3 separate regions of the Homo sapiens genome follow, and all the other regions are linked to region 3. The links are contacts of gene promoters, found by promoter capture Hi-C in blood cells and fetal thymus (Javierre and others, 2016). All regions are on one chromosome and are shown on one strand. Each heading gives the region's core, a stretch centred on a gene start or on the middle of the fragment in contact. The rest is flanking DNA. Distances are from core to core; before and after follow the strand shown. Region 1 has its middle 43 kb from the start of ABRACL. Region 2 has its middle 33 kb from the start of HECA. Region 3 holds the start of ECT2L (epithelial cell transforming 2 like).

What was found. Contacts are between HindIII fragments. The CHiCAGO score rates a contact against its expected background, and 5 or more counts as called.
Region 1: a fragment that was not itself captured here is called in contact with the fragment with the promoter of ECT2L in region 3 in 1 of 17 cell types (endothelial precursors); the score reaches 5.4 in endothelial precursors.
Region 2: a contact is called between a fragment that was not itself captured here and the fragment with the promoter of ECT2L in region 3, in 1 of 17 cell types (endothelial precursors). The highest score is 5.4, in endothelial precursors.

Annotation. Positions count from the first base shown.
Region 1 is chr6:139,069,587-139,073,787 of GRCh38, forward strand. No RefSeq gene overlaps it. Among named protein-coding and RNA genes, the nearest start is that of ABRACL, 43 kb to the left of the region's middle. The HindIII fragment of the contact is 2,197 bases long and covers 1,512-3,708 here.
Region 2 is chr6:139,099,940-139,103,917 of GRCh38, forward strand. No RefSeq gene overlaps it. Among named protein-coding and RNA genes, the nearest start is that of HECA, 33 kb to the right of the region's middle. The HindIII fragment of the contact is 255 bases long and covers 1,163-1,417 here.
Region 3 is chr6:138,793,908-138,798,120 of GRCh38, forward strand. It overlaps ECT2L (epithelial cell transforming 2 like), which reads left to right and starts at 2,180. Exons shown (of 22, transcript NM_001077706.3): 1 at 2,180-2,285. The HindIII fragment of the contact is 4,734 bases long and covers 1,947-4,213 here.

The DNA of each region.
Region 1 (4,201 bases), core at 1,360-3,859, 280 kb after region 3:
ACAGCAAAACAATTAAATCCATAACCAATTATGTCAGCTATAATGGGATGAATTCAAAGGGCATAGTTTGAATTTAAATTGGTATACATTAAGTGATATATTCATAAATTCATAAATTGATAAAATTTCATATATTTTAAGTGATATATATTAATAATTAAGTAATGTAATATAAAATTCTGGCCGGGTGGAGGTCCATTTTTCTCCTTAAAATAGGAGAATGACTTTTGGGAAGGTGGATGACAATGAAGAACCTTCCTAAACATGGCAGCCCGTTCTCAGGCAGATCAATTTCAAGTAAAACTATCTTTGCTCACGTGACCCTTGGAAAGTCTTCAGGTATCCCCAGGAGTACTCAAGTTTGGAGACCACTGCTATTAAGAACCAAATAAACGGCTGGGCGCGGTGGCTCATGCCTGTAATCCCAGCACTTTGGAAGACCCAGGCGGGCGGATCAGGAGATTGAGACCATCCTGGCTAACACGGTGAAACCCTGTCTCTACTAAAAATACAAAAAATTAGCCGGGTGTGGCGGCGGTCGCCTGTAGTCCCAGCTACTCAGGAGGCTGAGGCAGGAGAATGGTGTGAACCCGGGAGGCGGAGCTTGCAGTGAGCCGAGATCGGGCCACTGCACTCCAGCCTGGACGACTGAGCGAGACTCCGTCTCAAAAAAAAAAAAAAAAGGAACCAACCAACCAAACTTCCTTGACATCTAAACACACCAGGCACATACTCAGTAACAATTATTATTATGCTGAGAAAGGCCAGCTGTCATTTATAGGCAGAGATAGATAGATATAGAATATATAGAGATATAGAAATAGTTAACAATAATTTTTCTACACCCATATAGTAGATTGTGGCATTTTAAATTCCCATGTCTCAGAAAGAATGCGATAATTAAATCATTTTACTAATCCCATAATTATCTTTATGTTTTTCAACAAGGAGGGAGTGAGTCTGGGAAAGGCTTCAAGAGTGATATAACTTGAGTGGCACACACCTGTAATCCCAATACTTTGGGAGGCCAAGGTGGGAGGACTGTTTGAGACCAGCCTGGGCAAAATAGGGAGACCATGTCTCTACAGAAATTTTTTAAAAAAAATTATTGGAGCATGGTTGCAGGTGCCTGCAATCCCAGCTACTTGGGAGGCTGAGGTGGAAGGATCACTTGAGCCTGGCAGGTCAAGGCTGCAGTGAGCTCTGATCATGCCACTTCACTATAGCCTGGGCAACAGAGTGAGACCTTGTCTCTAAAAAAAAGAGAAGAGTAGATGTTTGCCATGATGAAGTGAGGGATTAAGGTTATTTCAGGGCACAGAGGAGAGAGAGAAAGGGTCCAAAGACAAAGGACAACTTAGTGTAGCTCAGTTTGTCTGAAGTGAAGGATGGGAGAAATATGGTCAAAAATCAGTCTAGCAAGCCAAGGAAGAGTCAGAGCATATGCTAAGATCTAGTGTTTCTCTTGAAGAAGTTGGTGCTTCATGACACAGGCAACAAAAGCCGTTTAAAGCTTTGGCACAAGCTGAGACTCTAATAAGAAAACCTTGCCATCAGAAAAACGGGAAAACCAAAAAGCAAGGTCTCAAACTGAGGCAGTTAGCTACAGGGTTAGAGAAAGCGGGAATGACAGTAGGGATGTTAGGGATATAAAAGAATCAAGGTTTGGCTACTAGGTGGATGTGGGGAGTGAGAGAGAAGGAGCCATGGGGAATGGTCCAGGTTTCTCGGTTGGTTATGATGTCAGGATTGTGCTTGACTATCACAGTTGGCAACACAATCTACTGCTATTCTGCAGATTTGTGATGCCTCTCCTAGCTTTCTGCGCAACCTTCTTTAGAATGGCTTTTCGTCCTCGTGCTTGTCATCTTGTTAATGTAAGAAGCATGTGCTACTTTCAGCATCACATTGGTCCAAGCTGGATGAAGGGAAGGGTTGCAGGGCAAAAGGCAGAGACAGCCCTTTTAAAAAGAGCCTTCCTGGGCCAGGCACGGTGGCTCATGCCTGTAATCCCAGCATTTTGGGAGACTGAGGTGGGTGGGTCATCTGAGGTCAGGAGTTCGGGACCAGCCTGGCCAACATGGTGAAACCCCCCATCTCTACTAAAAATACAAAAATTAGCTGGGGATGGTGGTGCATGCCTGTGATTCCAGCTACTTGGGAGGCTGAGGCAGAAAAGTTGCTTGAACCCAGGAGGCGGAGGTTTCAGTGAGCTGAGATCACACCACTACACTTCAGCCTGGGCAACAGAGTGAGACTCCATCTCAAAAAAAAAAAAAAAAATAGAGCCTTCCTGGATGTCCCACCCATGTCATTATGATATGCAGTAGCCTGAGCAGTTTGTATAGCTACCCCTAGTTGCAAGGGAGGTTCTTTATTTTTTGGTTGTTGAATTATTTTATTTTTTATATGTGTCTTTGTTTACCTTATTATTTTTTAAAATAAAAAATTGCATATATTTCCAAGAAAGTTTTTAAGCGGAATAGATTGCTTCTCTGAACTAAAAGTGATTCTGTTAGTGAAGAATGGATACTGAGTGGCCAACAACAGCATTTCCCACAGATCATTGTGGAGATGCTAGTTTCATGCTCTGAGACAGGAAATATAGGATGAGTAGCAGGCCTCAGTGGAAAGACAATAAATTCAGTTATGGATGTGTTGTGTTTGAGGTTACTATGAGTTATCCAGCTGAGATATTCAGTTGAATAAGCACGACTAATGATAATCTGGGGGGGTTCTTGACCTATAGATGACAGTTGGCCCTTCTCAATAATAATTGTTATTGATTATGTGTTTGATTATTTTTAGGTATCAAAGCAGGTTGGTTATTTGGTTCTTAATAGCAGTGGCCTTCAAACTAGAATATTCCTGGAGTACCTGAAGACTTTCCAAGGGTCATGTGAGCACACACAGTTCTAAGGGAATCAATTTCTAGGTTCTCAAATTCCATACATACTCTTACTTGAAACTGATCTGCCTGAGAACCGGCTGCCATATTTAGGAAGGGTCTTCATTGTCACCCACTTCCACAGAACTCCTTCTCCCACTTTAGGGACCTCTACCAAGCCAGAATTTTATATTACATCACTTAACTATAGATTTGTTGTAAGAAATCACATTATTTTCTTGTTTTATAATTTATTATAAAAATGAAAAAATCCTATTACCTCTACATAATGACTTTATGACTTTTAGCAATCTACTTTATGAAATGTTCTTCATAATTTAATAAATTTAATTTATTAAATTTAAATTTAATGGTTTTTGCAATGTTCCTTAAAATCCATATCAACATATTTATTTGAATGGAAACTGAAGTCCTTCTGAAGAATGTAAGCCTAACGTTGCCTTTGCCAATCAGGTTGGATGGCAAACATTTTCCACAGATTCAGTGAGCTAAATCTGTTGTCTTAGGTCATCAAAGTTTTGACATAAAATATATTGAAAACATGTGAGAAGATAAAAATAATTTTATTAAAAATTCTGAATTGGCTAAGGTACATTAAAAGAAAGAAATTTTATTTTCCCAACCCCTTTGAATATCTCTTACTTTAGAAAATGCCTTTGAGCCAAAAATAACATATATATTTAATAACCATTTGATAAGTCTTGGCAAGCCTTTCTTGGAGAAAACCCTGATACCTGGATAAAAACCTCTTTGCAAGCCAGGTGGTTTCCAACTCTTTTCATCTAACAAAATTGAAGACAAGCTTAATCAAGCTGTCATTTGCTAGAACATGAAAAATAATGTTATGATAGATCGCTAGGTGATTTTTGACATAAAATTTAGAACGAGTTGAAAGGATTGACTGATTTTTGTTTCAGCAAACCTTTTCTGTCCCCATTTATTCACATAAGCAAGATTTCTTAGCCCTTACATTTATAAAATGAAAACAAAAATGATGTCAAATCATTTTCATATTATTAATAAATACTATTCATGGATAGACATATGAACTAATTTTAAAAACAAAGCACATTCATCTCATAAAGAGATGCACTCCCAACAAAAATTTTCTTTTATGTTTAATAATTTTCTATCAAAAGTGTCAGCATGTTGATCTGTTTTGATCAACTGTGTATTAGCAATTGTAATGGCAGAAAATGTTAATTAGAGCATTATGAGCACATAAAGTAAAAAGTGTTCAATGTATATACACAATTGTGCAGATCATATGATGTGGTGATCTATAAAAGATTT
Region 2 (3,978 bases), core at 40-2,539, 310 kb after region 3:
TCTATATGTAACCATCTGTATCTATATTAAGCTAAACATGAATTCATATTGATGCCTCCAACTTTATTCCTTAATACTAAGATTGCTCTAGACTCTCCCCTTGCTTATCTGTAACCTCCAACTTCAACAGTGAGAAACCTGGCTCCTACCACCTGCCATGTGTTTACTTCATTGTTCAACCAGAGTATACATGTAGAATAGTAGCAGAATTGTTAAACTCTGTGGGAAACAACTTTCTCAGCTAGAAGTATAGTGCCTGTGTAGTTTCTTTTGCCTTTAGTTTCTCAGACTTTGCTCATTTCCAAAGTTTGAGGTCAGCGCCTGAAACATTTGTAAGGCTGTTTCATGCATTTGTAATAGAGTTAGATTGTTTTGTCACATTCTGCCTTTCGTCCTGGGATTCCCCTGACCTCCTAGTTTTGTTTTAATTTTCATACATAACTATATTCTTTGTGTTAGCAGCACTACTTTAAAAAATAATTTTTTTCTTCAACATCTAATTTGTAAGTCTTTATCACACATTAAAATCTTATGTCTAGTAATGTCTGTATTTCTTTGCTTACTATGTGTGTGGTATGTAAACCTCCTATCTAGCAATTAAATAAAAATTTATTTCAAGTTAGAGCAGAGAAAAATACAAAACTTCCTTGGAGGCACTATCCTACAACCCAGGCTAATAGGATTCCCACAGAATAAAACAAGTTTATTGGCATACACAGAAAGTTACAAACATATCATTAACCATGGGTGACAGCAGATACAACAAAGATTCATACCCCCAGGAATTTGAAATATAAAGTGAACAATGAAATAAATTATTAAAAAATAAGTAAAAAACAAATATTGATGATTATTTGGGGGAGTTAACAACAAATAGTTACATGGAAAATGAGTTACTTGAGAGATGAGAGGGTGTTTGTGAATATAGGTAGTTCAGGTTCTCCTATTGCCAAGTATCAGGTCCAAGGTACTAATGAATTTAGATTTTGTTAAGTGTCTGGGCAAAGTAGTTCCACCGAGGGCTGATTCCAGGTCTTAATGAAAATGAGCACTTTGACTAATAAATCGTGTACTGTCGCATCTTACTGTGATAAGCTCTAAGCATAATGGAAAACATCAGGCAGGCAGACGTGCAGTGAGCATGGTTTTCAAGTCCCCCCAAAGCTTCACAGACATGCCTGAGTGGGCAGTAGTTTTCCACCTGTTTAAGGTAAGGCATTGTTTATCATGCCTTTTGTATACCAGTTTCTAAAACTCCAACATAATTACCTTTTATGTTTGCAAAAGCGGTCTTTAGGTAGCTGTATCATTGAACCTCTGTTTCTGGGTACACAAGTTATACATAACATCTAGGCTGTGGTTGTATGCAACTAGTTATCTCCTGGGTTGCAAAGCTGAAGAGTGGTTAGGTAAGACAAGCTTGGCCAGAACCTACTGTAGCTTGTTAAAAATCTAAGAACAAAATGAAACTAATTGGAATACTAAAAAGTAAGACTTCCAAACCTGTTGAAAAATAAAAGGAAATGTAGAAAACCAAATTCACCAAAAAGAAGTCAGGAAAGAAGAAAGAGAAAAAGGAGGAAGAAGAAGAAATGTAAACGGCATAATAAAAGCACAAAATGAGATACTAAAATTAAATCTAAATATATAATGTATTAATATAAATGAATTAACACAGTATTTAAAAAACAGAGATTGTCAGATTGAATTTTAAAAATCCAGTTAAATGGAGCAGTGGTTCACGCCTGTAATCCCTGCACTTTGGGAAGCTGAGGCAGGTGGATCACTTGAGGTCAGGAGTTTGAGACCAGCCTGGACAACATGGTGAAATTCTGTCTCTACTAAAAATACAAAAATTAACCGGGAGTGGTGGTGGGCACCTGTAATCCCAGCTACTCAGGAGGTTGAGGCATGAGAATCATTTAACCCAGGAGGCGGAGGTTGCAGTGAGCCGAGATCACACCACTGCACTATAGCCTGGGTGACAGAGCGTCTCAAAAAAAAAAAAAAAATGCTGTTACACGTTTATAACACCTAACACAGGATAGCATGGGGACATTGTAAATAAATAAATAAATAATTCATACCAGAAAAATCTCAATCGAAAGAAAACTGGTATAACTATAGTAATTCCACACAAAATAGACTCTAAAGAAAAAAAGAGTGTTATTAGTTACAAAGAGGATCATTACATAATAATAAAATGAACAATTCATTGGGAAGCTGTACCAACTCTGAATCTATACCTTGTACAATACAGCCTTGAATTAAATATCCAAAATCTAACAGAATTACAAGAAGAAATGGATAAATTCATATAATTCCCTCAGTAATAAATGAAGCAGTCTAAAAGAAATAAGTAAAGTTATAGAAGGTTGATACCACACAATTTAAAAACTTGATCGAATTGATATAAATGGAATTCTGCACATATTTAGAAAATATACATGCTTTTCAGCCAGGTGCAGTGGCTCACACCTGTAATCCTACCACTTTGGGAGGCTGAGGTGGGTGGATCACCTGAGGTCAGGAGTTCAAGACCAGCCTGGCCAACATGGTGAAAACCCATTTCTACTAAAAATACAAAAATTAGCTGGGTGTGGTGGCACATGCCTGTAACACCAGCTACTCAGGAGGCTGAGGCAGGAGAATTGCTGGAACGTGGGAGGCGGAGGTTGCAGTGAGCCTAGATTGCACCACTGCACTCCAGCCTGGGCGACAGAGTGAGACTCCATCTGAAAAAAAAAAAGAAAATATACATGCTTTTCAAATTCTCATGGCACTTGTACAAAAATTGGATGACTACTAACCACAAAACAGATTTCAACAAAAACCAAAGAATAAATGCCATGCAGATTACATTATCTGATATCAGTGTAATAAAATTAGAAATTAACAAGAAGGTCATCAAATCTCCATTCAATTAAAAATAAAATAATGTGCATGTGTATGATTAAATCATAATGAAATTATATATATATATATATATATTTTTTTTTTTTTTTTTTTTTTTTTTGAGACAGAGTTTCACTCTTGTCACCCAGGCTGGAGTGCAGTGGCGCAATCTTGGCTCACTGCAACCTTCACCTCCTGGGTTCAAGCGATTCTCCTGCTTCAGCCTCCCCAGTAGCTGGGATTACAGGTGCCCACCACCACACCAGGCTAATTTTTGTATTTTCAGTAGAGACAGGTTTTCGTCATGTTGGCCAGGCTTGTCTCGAACGCCTGACCTCAGGTGATCCACCCACCTCGGCCTCCCAAAGTGCTGGGATTACAGGTGTGAGCCACCGTGCCTGGCCCAAATGATATATTTTTTAAAGAACAATAATGGCACTAATTAAACTAGAGCGTGCAATTACTTGGGAAAGGAAATAGCCTTGAATGCACACATTAAGAAAAGACAAATGTTTCAAAATGAACATCCCAAGTATCAACCTTAAAAAGTTAGAAAGGAACAATATAGTAAACCAGAAAAAAAAAAGTGGAAGGAGCCAAATAATAAAAATGAAGACTAAAATTAAGAAGTTAAAAAATGTGTAATAGAGAGGATTAACAAAAATTAGATACTGGTTCTTTGAAAAGATTAACAAAATAGATAAACTCTTGGTGAGAAAGACAAGTGAAGTCACACCAGAAAGTTAAATGCAAAAGAGGGCATAACAAACATATAGTAGGTATTTTTAAATTATAATAGAATATCAAGAAAAAGTGTATGCATAATTATGAGAACATAGGTAAAATGTCCATTTTCTAGAAAAACATAATGTAAAAAAATTAGCTCAAAAAAGAAACACAACCTCCAAATCAACCTTAGACCATTAAAGAAATTGAAACAGCAGTTTTTAAAAGTTTGGAGCTAGAGAAATTGATCACATGGAGGTACAGAGGCTCTGTCTAAGGAGATAGATACCAGAGACTGGGAAGGGTAAATGGTGGGGTGTGGAGAGGAAGGGTGGATACAGAGGGGCTGGTTCATGA
Region 3 (4,213 bases), core at 930-3,429:
TTGCAGTGAGCCGAAATTGTGCCACTGCACTCTAGCCTAGGCGACAGAGCAAGACTCTGTCTCAAAAAAAAAAAAAAAAAGAGAGATGCCTAGCACAATAGCTGATACCAGTAATGCTCAGTAAACATTAATTTCATCACCCTTTAAAAACAGCTTTATTGAAACAATAATTTATGTCATAAAATGTACCCCTTTAAAGTGTACAATTCAGTGATTGTTAGTAGATTCATAGAGTTATATACCCATCACCGTGATCTAATTCTAGAACATTTTCATCACACTAAAAAGAATCCCATTAACAGTCACTCCTTGTCCCCTAATCCCCTCAGCCTTTGGCAGCCACTAACCTCCTTTCCAGCTCTCTGGATTTTCTATTCTAGACATTTTATATAAATGGAATCATACAATACGTGGCCTTTTGTGACTGGTTTCGTTTACTTAGCATGATGTTTTCAAGGATTGAAGCTTCATCCATGTTATTGCATGTACTTCATTTCTTGTTTTGGCTGATCATATGCCATGGTATGGATAGAACACATTTTGCTTATTTATAACTCAGTTACCTTTGTGTTGCAGAAGATGCTCATGCTTCTGTCTCCTTGTTTCCAGGCCACAGAAATAAGCACCTAATTGGGGGAGGGGAGGAGAGGGACTTACTGAATATTTTTCAAATCTTGATTTTAATAATTTTTGGCTTTCTGAATTCAAAGTATTTTGATCAGTAAATTGGTCTTTTTAATACCCCTTTTAAAAATTACAGCATCATGGAGGAAACTTCATTTGGGTTGTGAGAATAGGGATTTAAGGGGGAAAAAGTCGTACTCTAGGGTCTGACAGGGCGAAAGGACACTTTGTCATGTGACATGTTTTTCTTGGATTGGTCCTGAGATAGAGTAAAGCAAAAAGCTGGTTCCTGCGGGTTGTGACAGAGCAGTGGATTGACCTTGTTTATTCACTTGGTTCATTCGCCCTTTGTGTCACAGGGCCCTAAATGGGTCCCAGGTAGCGAAATATTAGCTTATCTAATTTGTATCCTTTCACACTCCTTAAACACATGTTCAAGGAAACAGGAAAAAATGCAGTGCCTGGATTAGAATAAAATTTAAGGCCTGGTTTGGTGACAGGCACCAGTACTTTTAGCTACTCTGGAGGCTGAGGCGGGAGGATTGCTTGAGCCCAGGAGTTCTAGGCTATAGTGTACAATGATGATTTTACTGGCATACAGATGAAAAAGAAAAAGATATTTGAAATAAAAATAAAAATATAGTGCACAATGACCAGGCCTGTGAATAGCCACTGCACTCCAGCCTAGGCAGCATAGCAAGATCACATTTCTCATATGAAACTTTACTAGAATGAAACTTATGGTTTATTACATAGATGTTGCTTATTCGTTGTAGGAAAAATTGAATTACAGATGATTTTTAAAACTACCAGAGCAAACCATTTAACCTATTTGTGTACATACTCCCAGATTTCTTACACACGTTGCAAAAAAAATAGATCGTACCATTCTGCTGGTTTTCTAAGCTGCTTTTTGTAAGTAATGTACTGTGAGCATCTTTTCATGGCCATAACTATTACATACAAAAGAAAAAAACAGGCTTCACAATAAATAGTTAAAAGACATTTTGACCTGAAACTAATGAAGAAGGGTTTTTTGGTTTTGTTTTTGTACCTCCTGTATAATGCTGAAATTGGTAATTCTGCAGTAAATATTAACATTTTCTGAGGATCTGCTGAAGATGAATGTGACAAAAAATAAGAAACTCCACTTTCCTCATCACACAGCCTTAATTAACATCGCTGGCTTTGTTTGAGATCAAGCAAACGTTGGCTTCAGTGTCCAAGTCTCTTCTTGGGGTCCCACGGCCTTGGGTCTGGCACCTCTGCTGGGCACCTCGCAGGGCTTCCGAGACGTGCCGCGACCCACGGGACCCCACGGAAGCTTTCTCCCACCGCAAGCTCCCTGGAGGCAGGGAAAGGAGCCGGGACCCGAGCCTAGCTGGCCTCAAGAGAAGGGCGGTGGCTCGCACGGCGCGGGCGGCTTTGCTCACTGCAGCTGGGGAGATGCAGGTTGGCCGTCCGGGCGCGGCGGCGGGAGGGGCTGCGGGCCTGTGGGGCGGGGTGGTGGCTCCGTGTTGTTGGATCCCTATGGAGATGACCCTGTCCCTGCCCCACCCCTCTCCGGAGCTGCGGCCCGAGTTGGCGCACTCGATTTTCACTGCGCGGTTCCAAGAGGAGACAGCCGCCACTGTACCGGGCCTCATAGCCACTTCCTAGAGGTAAAGCCCGTGGCTTCTGAGCCGCTAGTCTTTTTCTTGGGGCCGCCCGGGGCACATCGCCTGGGCCGGCTTAGTTTCCCAGTGCAGTCGCCCAGGAAGACCCTAAGCAGCGCTGAGGGGCGCAGGGCCCTCCCTCCGCGACCCTGGAGTCCCTTAGCAGCTCTGGAATTAACCAAGATTCTGAAGAGGCTCTGGGGAGAAACAAAATCCACGCGTAGGGTAGGGTTTGCATCGGGCCATGCCAAGTAAACTCTTACCTCCTCCAGAGAACTGATTTGGGATCGAAGTAAAGTTCTTGAACACTTTGGAAAACGCTGATTTTCATAGGTTCACACCAACTGCCTTCTTCCTTCTGACAGTTCTCTCCCTCTTTCCTCCTATGGGGTCCAAAAATGTAGGGAGTAGGGTGGGGGCTGGGTTGGGGGAATGAGGGAGGAATACAAAAAATCTACTGTGAATATAGGTCTTGGTTATAAGGATAGCTCTAAGAGTTAATATGCTAAGATTTGATGAGCAGGACAAATAAAACAGTGGTACTTTAAAATATCGATTTAAAAATACCGATGCTGTGCTTATTAATAAACTTTGCATATGTATCAGAACACAATATCCTGACATCATTGGTGTTAAAGTTCACTGCAACCCATGCAATTGTATCCAAGCCTGTTAAAGTCTGTTCTGCAGGAACTGACATTTGTGCTCCACAGAAACCTCAAAAATCATGCTCTACAAACACTTATTTCAGTGGGAGGAAGAAGGGTTAAGGACTTGGAAGTTTTATAGCAACAGTTGCATCTTGTTTGTTACAGCTTTAGTTTTATAGCTTTAAACTTATAAATCAGTGAGCACATCCACCATTTGAAAATACCAGCACAAGTATGGTATTTTCTATCACCGCCTGTAAGATCAATAGCCCAGGTTTCCTCAAAACACGCCATTATTTTCATTATCCATTGCTTAGTGTGTACTTAATAAAAATTATATACTGGCATGTAGTTTTACATGCCCTAAATGTGGGACATTTAACTCAACTGGAATTGTCTTTCATTTCTGTTTTTTCACCAATCACACTTACTTTTCTTCTACTCCCGTTCTTTTGTGCGATCTTTAGAACCAGATACCTTTTTGGAGGCATATTTAAGGAAGTAAATTTTTGATAAATAAAGGAATCATTGCACAATTTGCATGTGTGAATTGCAGAAGTACGCGCATGTAGGTACATACCTCTGCCGAGGAGCAGTGTTTTAATTTCTAAGCCACTCTGTCTACTGTAGTGGAGAAGGACCAGACTAACTTGCATTTCTCCAGCTGTATAACAGATAACCTGTGGAAACACAGTTAATTGACATCATTGCTCTTCTGTGTGATCCCAGTGAGGATTTAGCTCTCTATATGGGCTGGCAATTGTTCAGCCATTTCATCTTTTAATCTGGCTTTGGTTGTTCTGAGAGGAAAAAAAAAACAAAAAACTTTTTTCTCTTTACTCTCACACACTCAGTACAGCCCTTCACCTCTTGTCACCAAAATGTATGGGAATTTCTTCCCACCGACAACCAATTCTCCAGTGGCCACCAACTCTACGTCCTATAATTTAACCCAGTTCTGACACTGTGTACCTGGAGTTAGTGTCAGATCCCATACGTTCAGGGCTCAGTCCCAAAAGACTGCCCCCCACTTCAAATGCCAATCACAAGTCCCAGGTTGTGACTATATGTTGTTTATGATTAACCAACCAGTTACAAATCTGGATTCCCACAAGCCCCTCCTCCGGTTTGATTAATTTGCTAGAGTGACTCACGGAATTCAAGGAAACACTTTACTTATGTTTGCCCATTTATTATAAAGGATATTACAAAGGACAGATGAATAGCCAGATAGAAGAGAGGCCCAGAGAAAGGTATGTGGGCAAGGGTGTGGAACTTCCATGC